4 separate regions of the Homo sapiens genome follow, and all the other regions are linked to region 3. Evidence: promoter capture Hi-C in 16 types of primary human blood cells and fetal thymus (Javierre and others, 2016). All regions are on one chromosome and are shown on one strand. The core of a region is centred on a gene start or on the middle of the fragment in contact, and the rest is flanking DNA. Distances in the headings are between cores, read along the strand shown.

Region 1 (2,700 bases), core at 92-2,591, 260 kb after region 3:
TATTTAAATGTAGTGGAAATTTGTTGCATACCTCCTTAGCAACCATTCCTTACTTTCCCATTACCAGAGCTTCCAGTCACTGTTTAGAAATCCATTTGGTTCTGGGTAATTCAACCATACCTCCAGATCCACAGACGCACCCTATGACCTGGGATAAGCCAAGCAATACAATCTATTCCCTGCACACAGAGTAGGTAACAAGGTAGAGATGTAATTTAAGTTGTTTAAAGAAAGTGAATCTCTGGATATTTGCTGGTAATGATTGGCAAAGGCTCACTTTTATGCAGAGCTGAGCAACAAAAAAATGCAGCTCCAGCACCTATTGGCAGTCATTATAAGACCTCCAGAAAAGCCAGTCTTAGGATAAAGCCAATAATGCTGAAGGCAGAAAAAAGTCAGGTCCTCATTAAGTGCTGAATCAAGCTATACTTTAAGCCAGTATTATCTTTGGAAATATACTTACATGAATAATAAATTAGTTTTGTGTATAAGCCACCGTTAGTTGGCTTTTCCAACATGTGCAACCAAAAGAAGAATAACAGTTTCAGAATTTTGTGCCAGGAGTGGGGCATTATAATTAACAGAGAAGTGTGAAATGGATCTAGTCAAAGAGGTAGGATTGAAAGCAATAGGAAACCTTGTATCCTAGTCTGGAAAGTATACAATTCTTGTTATACAGAATCAAAGCAACTAGTTAAACTGTGAACTATTGTTTCTTGGCATTTAAACTTTGCTGTCCAAGGCTGTAGTATTGGTTATTTAGTAAAAAGTAAAACTGTATTGGAGAGTGCTGGCTACATTTTGCAGAATTGTGGGCTTCTGGGATATCTGAATGCATAAAAGAAAGAAAATATGACTTTCTAAAAGAGGCTCTTTCTGCCTGTCAACTACAATATAAATTTATTAAGAGTATAGTAATTTGAAGACCTGCAGGCTAGATGAATGTAAATTCTATGCCCCAAAGGCAGAAAAATAAACCCAAGGTGGAAATAATATTGAGATTTCTGAGTCTTCAGGTCTCCCCCAAATGCCTCTTATTTGCTTTATCTCATGAGGAAGACAGTTCCACCCATGTGAAGGTAGAGCAAAGATGCATTTTGGGGGCAAGGCAAATATAGTCAGTGCCTTGGCCACTGAGGCCATTGTCGAGAGATAGAAGTATCCAGGTTTGTCTTGAAACTCAGAATGATGAATTTGGAATGTATGTGGCTTTAGCTGCTGGATTACGGATCCATACAGAAACTACTTTATTTGAAGGGAGTTGTGAGATGGCTTATCATGGAACTATATAACAGCAATAGCTAACTAATACACTTTTATTTTCATTTTTCTCATCTTCTGTTCAAAAACTTATGTTCCAAGTATGAGAAACTACAAATCTGTTCATTGACTTTCTCTTGACTGTAACTATGGAGGCTCATGGGAAGGTCCTTTTAGAGGAAACCCTATTGTTCTTTTTTCCCCACTAAAGTTATCTAAGAGAAGGAGAAGTATTATTAACGTGTAACTCTAGAAACATATTTAGAAATTCCATAAAATCACTCTTGATTATTTTATTTAAAACATGCAAGAAGTATTTTTGTTCACCCACTTGACTGTAAGCTCCTTAAAGCAAGGATGTGCTTTGCGTGTGACCTTCTTTCCACATTCCTATTCCTGTTATATCAATTTCAACACTATAAAATCAACTGCAATCTTCTCATAATAATGCTAAGTTATATAATTGAATAAACACAGCTGGACAAGTGACTGAGAATTGACGATTAGAAGGGATAAAGGAGTTAACTTCTGTTGAGCACCTGCTATGCTAGATACACAGCACATTTAAACACCAATCCTGAAAGGTATTATCTTTCTGATTTTACAGAGGAAAAAATTGAGCCTCAGAGAAATCAAGTATGTTTCATATTCAATGGCAGACTTATGTTTTTAATGCAAATTCATTCAGCTTCAATGCCAAAAAATGTGCATTTTGCTATAGGTATAAATACATTGGGGTTGGGATGATCTATGAGTCTCTGCCTTGATACTGCCTCTGAGATTAAACATCCTTATACATGTTGATGCTTCAATCGCTATTTTTTTCTGTTTTTTTTTTTTTCCAAACTTGTATAGCAATTATAACAAGAAGGCAATTACTTTTCACCCTGGGGAATAGATATTGGCACTAATCATGCAAATTAATTCTAAAGGTCAGATGAGAGTGTAAATGTGGGTCAGTACAAGCTGTAAAGCAAACATTTTGGCACTGGAAGGGGCAAATAAATTAGTGTTAGAGAATAGAGTCTAAAAAGAAATCTGAAAGTACATGAGAAATTAATATGTGATAAATATGTCTCAAAATCACTGGGAAATATATTAAATAATGTTGGAGATATTGGAAATAAACTTAGAAGAATATATCCTTAGGTTTTGATATTAAATGCTATACATAAAGGAAATTCTGGTTGGTTTATAATTTAAATTAAAAAATCTATAAACATAAAATATATACAATACATTTTTAATCTTGGATAGAAGGCAAAGGGGAAGACAATCTTCCTGCATATATGACATTCTTATATCTATTTTCCTATTATTCATCTGTCTATCCATCTATCTACCTGCCTACACATGCACACATTAGCATTTGTATGTGTGTTGCATCTATATTCATATTCAAAATTGGATTATTGGTGGCTTATTTTGTGTGTGTATTTG
Region 2 (2,700 bases), core at 150-2,649, 270 kb before region 3:
GACTAGATTAACTGGGTGTTTGCCAAAACTTCCTTCCATATTGGGTCATGTAGACGCAACTAAATTGCATACTTCTTAGGTCAAATCTGCCTCTGGTTTAAGAGGATTCCAGGTAGAAAGAAGAAAACATAACAGTTCACTTAGGTAATCAGGCTTGAGGATAAATGAGAGGCAGTTTATACGCAACGCCCTCTGCCCTGCTCCGACCCTCATAGGTTGCAATGTTCACAGCGAGGTTGCCCTTCTTCTCCTTGGCCATAGGGGATACACTCTTGGGTCTGCGTAACATTCAGCTTCTGTGTCCTTTGCTTTCAAAGTTCTGCAGGTCAAGGCTCACTGGTGAGTTGTCTTGTGTCTACTGCCCGTGTCCTGCTTAGCCTTTGAGTGTAATTCTTTGTACGCTTGTGTCCCTCGCTAGGTGATCATCTTTAGGAAGAGGGGTTGTATCTTAAGCACCTTTGTTTCTCTCAAAAATTCATTCTTGCCCCTCGCCATCACCAACTTATTGGATTTAATTGATGCCTTATGTCCCACCACACATTTATTCATTCAACAATGTTTTACTGAATGTCTACTACCTTGCCAGACACTTTACATGCTGAGAACACAACAATCGCTAGACAAACGTCCTTCCTCTGTGGAGCTGACATTCAAGACAAGTAGTAAATTACATTGTATATTAGAAGGCGATGAATGCTATGAAGAAGAGAAAACCAGAGGAGGGAAGTAGGCAGTGCAGGGATGGGAGGTCTTCTCTGAAAATATAGAATTTGAGCAAAGACTTGATCTAACATTATGAAAATAGAGCTCTACATAGTTCCATAATTTTATTTTGAAAAGTGACAGATTGGCTGACATTGGTCTCAAAGTCCCTCTGGAAAGCCAATTCCTTTTAATTAGTTTTTTATGCATGAGAGTTGCTTTATGTTGTAGGATAGCAAAGTTAGCTAAGAAACTTGACAGCATCTCTTTGATGTTTGGGAGAGGAATAGTAAAAGGTGAGATGAACCCCATATTTTAAAGACTCAAGTACTTTTCACATATTTTGAATCAGGTGATTGTCAAGTCTGTGGTCTTGGATTCACGTTGAATTAGAACGGCCATTCAAATCAAGAAACGTAAAATCCCAACAATTCCCATGATTTGCCTTTTGACCTATGTCTGAAATGCTTTGCAGGAAAGGACAAGTCTCTGGGTTCAGTGTAGCAGAAGTGGACAGGTGAGTTCATGCTGAAGGAGCACTACTTCTTTTTGTTTGTTTGTTTGTTTTGTTTTGAGACGAAGTCTTGCTCTTGTCCCCCAGGCTGGAGTGCAATGGCGCAATCTCGGCTCACTGCAACTTCCGTCTCCCGGATTCAAGCAATTCTTCTGCCTCAGCCTCCTGAGTAGCTGGTATTATAGGCGCCTGCCACCATGCCTGGCTGATTTTTATATTTTTAGTAGAGACGGGGTTTCACCATGTTGGCCAGGCTTGTCTTGAACTCCTGACCTCAGGTGATCCACTCACCTCAGCCTCCCAAAGTGCTGGGATTACAGGCGTGAGCCACCACGCCCGGCCAAGAGCACTCCTTCTTTTGTGGCCTGGCAGGTGAGCAGGAAACACTTCCGTCCCTGAGCTGTGCATCCACACATCAGACAGAGCACAGTAGTTAAAAGAAAAAGAACCATCAAGTCTTGGTAGGTGGAATGTGATCTCACTTATTATATCACAGCATCAGAGGCTCCTTTTTAGACTGGAAGGACCTCAGACATTATCTAAACCAGACATGCAAATTAGCACAGGCCCAGAGGCCCAAAGCCTGAGAGGTAGCATATGTGGCCATGTAAGAATTTTAATAGAAATTGAAATTATGACTCATAGCAAAAAACTGCCTCTCTCTAACCTCCTCTAGTGTATTGGGCAGGGCTGATAATTATTTTGCAGACAGGCCCAAAAGGCCGAAGACTTCTTAAGCTCAAAGATTTTTCAAAATGATACCAAGAATGATTTTCATCTCTTTGGAAGAGTGATACCTAAAATTTATCAAGCATAGGACTGTTGGTGGTGTTACTAAGGGCTCTTAAAGATCTTCATGGGAAGAAATTCCATAATTTCTCGTGAATCCATTCCAAACAGGGAAATGGCTCATTGCAAAGGAAAGAACTCTGGGCTGGGGGGTCAGAACTCCTTGCTTTGCCTCTCATCTCTGTCAGTTATGAGCTGTGTGGTCTGAGGCAAATGACTTAACCTCTCTGAACCTCTTATTGAACCTCTCTGTAAAAGGTAGATACTTGGCAGGGGCGGGAGAGAGTGGTGTGATTATTCCTAAATTTAAGAGTTTGGAAAAGCAAATAGCACACTGGATCCTCACAGGGATCTTTTGAGAATAAATGACACCATGCATATGAAAATGCTTTCTAGGGCTGGGCGCAGTGGCTCACGCCTGTAATCCCAGCACTTTGGGAGGCAGAGGCAGGCAGATCACGAGGTGAGGAGATCAAGACCATCCTGACTAACATGGTGAAACCATGTCTCTACTAAAAATACAAAAAATTAGTTGGGCGTGGTGGTGGGTGCCTGTAGTCCCAGCTACTCGGGAGGCTGAGGCAGGAGAATGGTGTGAACCCGGGAGGCGGAGCTTGCAGTGAGCGTCACTGAACTCCAGCCTGGGCGAGAGGGCAAGACTCTGTCTCAAAAAAAAAAAAAAAAAATTGCTTTCT
Region 3 (2,700 bases), core at 133-2,632:
CATTTGCAGCAATTCCAGGCAACATGCTCAGCCTGCTTCAGGGAAGCACACAACACTGAGTGTGGATGAGACCTCAGAACCCTCTAACCTTGGGCAGCTCCTTACCTCTTCCTGTCTGAGCCATGTTTGATTTGCTGCAAGAGGAATACGTGTCTAAACTGCTGGATTTTAAAATGTCGCTTGGTCTGTGGATTAGGCCAATCCACCCCACATTGTTGGGGCTGCAGATGCAGTTGAATGGTTCATAATTATAGTCTAAAGAAACTGCAGACAGCAATAGAGCCAACCCAGGCCCTTTCTCTCCTGACAGCCCATGCCAAGCTGTCTCCCACAGGGAACCATAGTGTGGTTATCCTGCAATGTATTTGCCCAAAGACAATACATCCAGTGTAGAGAAGTTGGATTTCTAGAAATTGAGTCTGCTCATCTATCTACTCCCATGTCCATTGTATCCTGTCTTGTGTCTCAAGGGTGTCTGGTACTTCTCCTGCCAAAGTGAAATGCAAAGTAAATGCAAGGAGATGCCAGGGAGAGAACTGCTATCAGGGCATCTGGTTCTAGTACTGACACTGACTTTTTTAGATTGTGTGGCCCTGGAAATAATAATTTCCTCACTCACACTCATTTTTCACCTCTGGTAAATAGGAGTGCTGGACTTGGAGAGCACTGATAAACTCCCATTGAGCTCTAACATGTGACAAATCCAAGACCTAAGGTTTTGTCTCCAAAGAGGCACTACAAATGTGATCTTCTTTCAGAATTTAAACTGTCACTTTTCTGTGACTCAAAACAAATATAAATCTAGTTCTCTTCTCCAATCAGGTAGTTCTCGAATTTCTCAAGTGAGGCTGATGCTGGGCAGGTTGCCAGTTTAAGAACTGAGGAAGGGTCTTGAAGAGATTTTTAAATGAAATGTGGTGATAGTTGTTCTATCTCTCGCTGGAGATCGTTCAGGAAAATTGAGCATCCAAGCTATTCTGCAAAGAGATGGCTGTAGACAGACATTTAATGTGATTTCCCACATATTCTACCGTATACTAGATCTTAATAACAATAATCAAATACTAATTCTCACCTAGACACTGTGCTAAATTCTTTGCATACATTATCTCATTTAATCATTCAAATAGCCTTAAAAGGTGTGTGCTGCTATTATCCCTAGTTGAAACATGGAGGAACTGAGGTTCGGGATTGTTTAAATGACTTACCTGTGGCAATTCAGCTGGCTAGTTGGTAGAGTAAGAATTTGAACCTGAGTCTTATTCCAAAGCCCACACTACTATCCTCTTTGTTTTCTTATATTGAGCTTTCCAGGGCAAACAGGCTCCCAAGTCCTCCCCTCTCCCCCAACCCCACCCCACCCTCCCTTCTTCCCTCCTGACTGCAGCTCCTCCTACCCTCATTGTTTATTGTGCCTTCTAAACAATAGCCAATGAGTCTGTGTTCCATTCTAGGGAGAGCTAGGGCTGATTTTATTCCCTGAAACAGAGATGAGGTTGTGACACAAAAAGGTTAAGTGGCTTTGGTGAGGTCACAGAGCCAGCCTGCAGTCAGCAACAGTACCATCTGAGTCCCCTGGCTTGGGTCCCTTAACTGACCCTAAGGCTTTTTGGCATCCAAGTTTAATTAAGAGAGTTATTTTAATTTTCCTTCCTATCTCTAATTTTCCATTTTATTGCTGCTTGATAATGTAGATATTGAAGTGCCAGGCATTTTTCTTCCCTAGTGTGACTTTTAATGACTAAACTTCTCACATAGAAACCACTTGCCTTAGAAGTAAGCTTTCAAAGCTTGTTTCTGTGTATGACAGAGACTGTTGCCTTTTCTCAGAGAAAAATGAGACCACAAATGCAGCTCAGACAGGTTGTTGTTAATTGAGGGCTTTTTTTTTTTTTTTTTTTTTTCTAAATCTTACATTTATACCAGTAAATCAACATCTGTGAGTCATAAACTGGTTCTGGATCAGCCGTTAGTGGTCTGAATGTTTTTGTACCTACCTTCAGTAAAGCATATTTTAGCTCAAAACTCAGAGATTCTTTGTTTTGTTGAAGTTCAAGACTCAGGAGTAGATAACATGCTAGGACACTTCTGGAGAGGGAAAGTCTGTCTTCCATGATTGTTCAACATTAAGTGTATATTTATATTTCTTTTTTATTGAAGTTGGGGTGGAGTTGAGGGAGGAGTATAAATAAAAAAGAAAGTATGCTTTTTACATACTCCATGTGCTTGAGGAATTCCTGTATGAAGGTGACTATTTTCTTAATATTATTGTCTAGCTCCACTCTTCTGTTCCCCAACTCCTGCGGACTTTTCTTGGCCCTTATTGACTTCACGTTCCTAGTGTAAGGCAATTCAGCACTTGGTAGGATATAATTAGCCGAAGTCTAAGGAATGCTTAAAAATACAATTCTGTTTTTTCCCAAATGCAGGAGGAACAGACTGCTGCAGTACAAGCACAAGCACAGAAGTATTTATTTGATTGATTTTTTTTTTTCCTGAGTGCCTTAAAAACCAGATATGGTATTGAAGTATCTTGCCCAAGTGGATGAAAGGCAACGCTTGGCTGCTGTTGTTTGGCTGGTGGGGACACTGAGGCATACATGTAACCGAGTGGACGTGAGTGCTGGGGATAGAGGTTCTGCTCTACTATGAAGGGAAAAGGGCACAGCCTCTGACACTTTTTAGTTCATCTTCACAAGC
Region 4 (2,700 bases), core at 31-2,530, 280 kb after region 3:
TCTCATAGAAGGCAATTGTGCAGCCATTATTGGAACCCACATTGGAATGATTTTCATAGCTCATTTAGTCCTGACAAGCCCTGCCTCATCTCCCCTCTACTGTAAAGCTGTCCATGCTTGGCTATTTTCCATCAGGTTTTTAGTTGAACATCTTTTGCAAGTTGAAATATTATTTAGAACATTTCCTTTGATTTTAAACATACCCAGTAAAATTTGACATCTTTAGAAAGTTGAATTTTTAAAAGCCTTCTTAATTTATAGCATCTTGATTTAAAATCAAACCTTGTGAAACAACTTAAAGAGCCCATCAGTTTTACTCAGTAACGTTTGCTGAAATAAGCATAAACAAAATGTTTTCCTCTGAAGTACATGAGGGTTAAAAGTTTGTGGTAAAAGAATTCTCAAATGGAACATTGCTTGGGACCATTTTGATTGTGTTGGTGATGCTACTGGTCTTATCTTGGATGAGAGCTGGTATAAAATTGTTTAACTTTTGCTTTGAACTCTTTTAAAACTCCAAGCATAGGTTTTAAAAGAGAAATAGCTAAAGAAAGACAACTCTAAGCAAATTTGATCTTCATCCACATTTGTACACGTCAGCATTGCTAAGATGATCACATGCGTCTTCAGGAATGATGTTTACAGCCTTTGATCTAGCGTGTAAATGAAAGGGTACATTTGCACACAGCCTCCTTAGGGTCCATGATATGAATGTGTGTTTTACCTACAGACTCAGCTACTCAGAGGTCTGGTTCAGGATACTCACCTCAAAACACAAGACACTAGAGCAATGGGAGGGAGGAGAATGGTAAGGATTGGTGGCACATTATACCCTTCAAAGGATACATTTCCATCAACTCTTCAGGAAAAATACCTGGAAACATATGAGCTTTTAGTGTATGATGATTCCTTAGGTATAGGAGTCTATGTGCACATCTTGTGTGCATGGGATCTCTTTGTTTTAGTTTTGCTCCTTTTATTTGTTTATTTTTAGCCAGCTTGTGCAAATGACAATAGCAGAGAAGTTATCATAGTCTAAGGAATCATATGCAGCTGGGTTTCATTCTCAGAACCTCTACTTACTATACTTACTACCTTTTTTCTTCTTTTTTAACTTGAGTACAGTTACCTTACCTCTCCAAAACTCACTTTCATCTATAAATGTAAATAAAAATAATCTGTCTACTCCACAGGCATGTTAAAAGACTACGTGACAACAGTGTCAATTGACTGGCACATGGTAAGTGCTCAATAAATCAATTCATGGTACTTATTATACTGAGGCCTTTCCATGCTGATAACAAGAAAAATGGCATTTTCAGTTAATTTTTTCTTAAATGTAATGAACTATAATAAAATGTAACTTAATGTGCTGAAATCTGCCCAATCTCTTCTGATACCCATGCATTACAGTACTGAAACACAATTGCCAAGCTACTACAACTGTTTTTGCAACACTGTATTTTATTTTAAAATGATAAACATGCTTGGCCAGCCAAAACACATAATTGTGAGTTACTGGATTTATTTTTTCAGTGTAGGATTTCAGTTTATTGGGAAACTAGAAGTTGTCACATTAAAAGTAAATTGTACACAAACAAATATGCAGTAATATAGTTCTGTGATTTCTTTTTTTTTTTTTGTGAGAGAGGAAGAGGAGAGGGTCTTGCTCTGTTGCACGTGCTGGAGTGCAGTGGCATGTTCACGGCTTACTATAACCTCCACCTTCTGGACTCAAGCCGTCCTCCCAGCCTCCTGAGTAGCCGGGACTACAGGCGTATGCCATCACGCCTGGCTAACTTTTGTAGTTTTTTGTAGGGACGGGGGGTTTCCCCATGTTGCCCAGGCTAACTCCAGGGCTCTAGTGATCCACCTGCATTGGCCTTCCAAAGTGCTGGGATTACCGGCATGAGCCACCACACTCGGCCGGTTTGTGGTATCTTGAACTCCTGAATTAAAGATTCATGAATATAAAGGATCCCAAATCTCTGCTTAGGGATTTTTTTTTTTTTTTTTTTTTTTTTTTTTTTGAGACGGAGTCTCGCTCTGTTGCCCAGGCTGGAGTGCAGTGGCGCTGTCTCAGCTCACTGCAAGCTCCGCCTCCCGGGTTCACACCATTCTCCTGTCTCAGCCTCCCAAGTAGCTGAGACTACAGGCACCCACGACCAAGCCCGGCTAATTTTTTGTATTTTTAGTAGAGACGGGGTTTCACTGTGTTAGCCAGGATGGTCTCGATCTCCTGACCTCATGATCCACCAGCCTCGGCCTTCGAAAGTGCTGGAATTACAGGTGTGAGCCACCGCGCCCGCCCAGGGATCTTTGTAACTGACATTAAAACGTAAATACTGATGTTCACATTAAGGAGCGTTTTGGCATATCATCATTACTAATGTATATTTTGCCCTTTGATTTGAAATCAATGAGTTGGAAAAGCATTTGTGTGTCTCACAGGGTATCTATAACAGCATGGATTAACATTTTGGGGTAAAACAAGTATGGAACAGTTTTTATGAGTTCTTTTTTCCTGTTAACTAATATTCACATCAGTGAAAACTTTGAATTCTCATCAATCTGTTTAAATTTTCTTATTATAATTAAGCACAACACATTTTCCCTTTTTTTAATTGACGTATAATAATTTTACAAGGTACATAGTGATGTTTTCATACATATCATGTATAGTGATCAGATCAGGGTAAT

What was found. The method cuts DNA at HindIII sites, captures the fragments that hold promoters and counts their contacts. A CHiCAGO score of 5 or more calls a contact.
Region 1: a fragment that was not itself captured here is called in contact with the fragment with the promoter of ETS1-AS1 in region 3 in 11 of 17 cell types (total CD4 T cells, activated CD4 T cells, total B cells and 8 more); the score reaches 18.1 in total CD4 T cells.
Region 2: a fragment that was not itself captured here is called in contact with the fragment with the promoter of ETS1-AS1 in region 3 in 8 of 17 cell types (neutrophils, total CD8 T cells, total B cells and 5 more); the score reaches 10.8 in neutrophils.
Region 4: a fragment that was not itself captured here is called in contact with the fragment with the promoter of ETS1-AS1 in region 3 in 2 of 17 cell types (naive B cells and total B cells); the score reaches 5.8 in naive B cells.

What each region holds. Positions count from the first base shown.
Region 1 is chr11:128,263,818-128,266,517 of GRCh38, reverse strand. No RefSeq gene overlaps it. Among named protein-coding and RNA genes, the nearest start is that of LINC02098, 56 kb to the right of the region's middle. The HindIII fragment of the contact is 4,564 bases long and covers 1-2,700 here.
Region 2 is chr11:128,795,551-128,798,250 of GRCh38, reverse strand. The region is part of intron 5 of FLI1 (Fli-1 proto-oncogene, ETS transcription factor); the gene reads right to left. Among named protein-coding and RNA genes, the nearest start is that of KCNJ1, 70 kb to the left of the region's middle. The HindIII fragment of the contact is 4,733 bases long and covers 1-2,700 here.
Region 3 is chr11:128,524,824-128,527,523 of GRCh38, reverse strand. It overlaps ETS1-AS1 (ETS1 antisense RNA 1), which reads right to left and starts at 1,382. Exons shown (of 4, transcript NR_120581.1): 1 at 1,209-1,382; 2 at 106-991. The region is part of intron 3 of ETS1 (ETS proto-oncogene 1, transcription factor); the gene reads left to right. The HindIII fragment of the contact is 5,425 bases long and covers 1-1,783 here.
Region 4 is chr11:128,241,441-128,244,140 of GRCh38, reverse strand. It overlaps LINC02098 (long intergenic non-protein coding RNA 2098), which reads right to left. Exons shown (of 4, transcript NR_146647.1): 4 at 2,700. Among named protein-coding and RNA genes, the nearest start is that of LINC02098, 34 kb to the right of the region's middle. The HindIII fragment of the contact is 9,586 bases long and covers 1-2,700 here.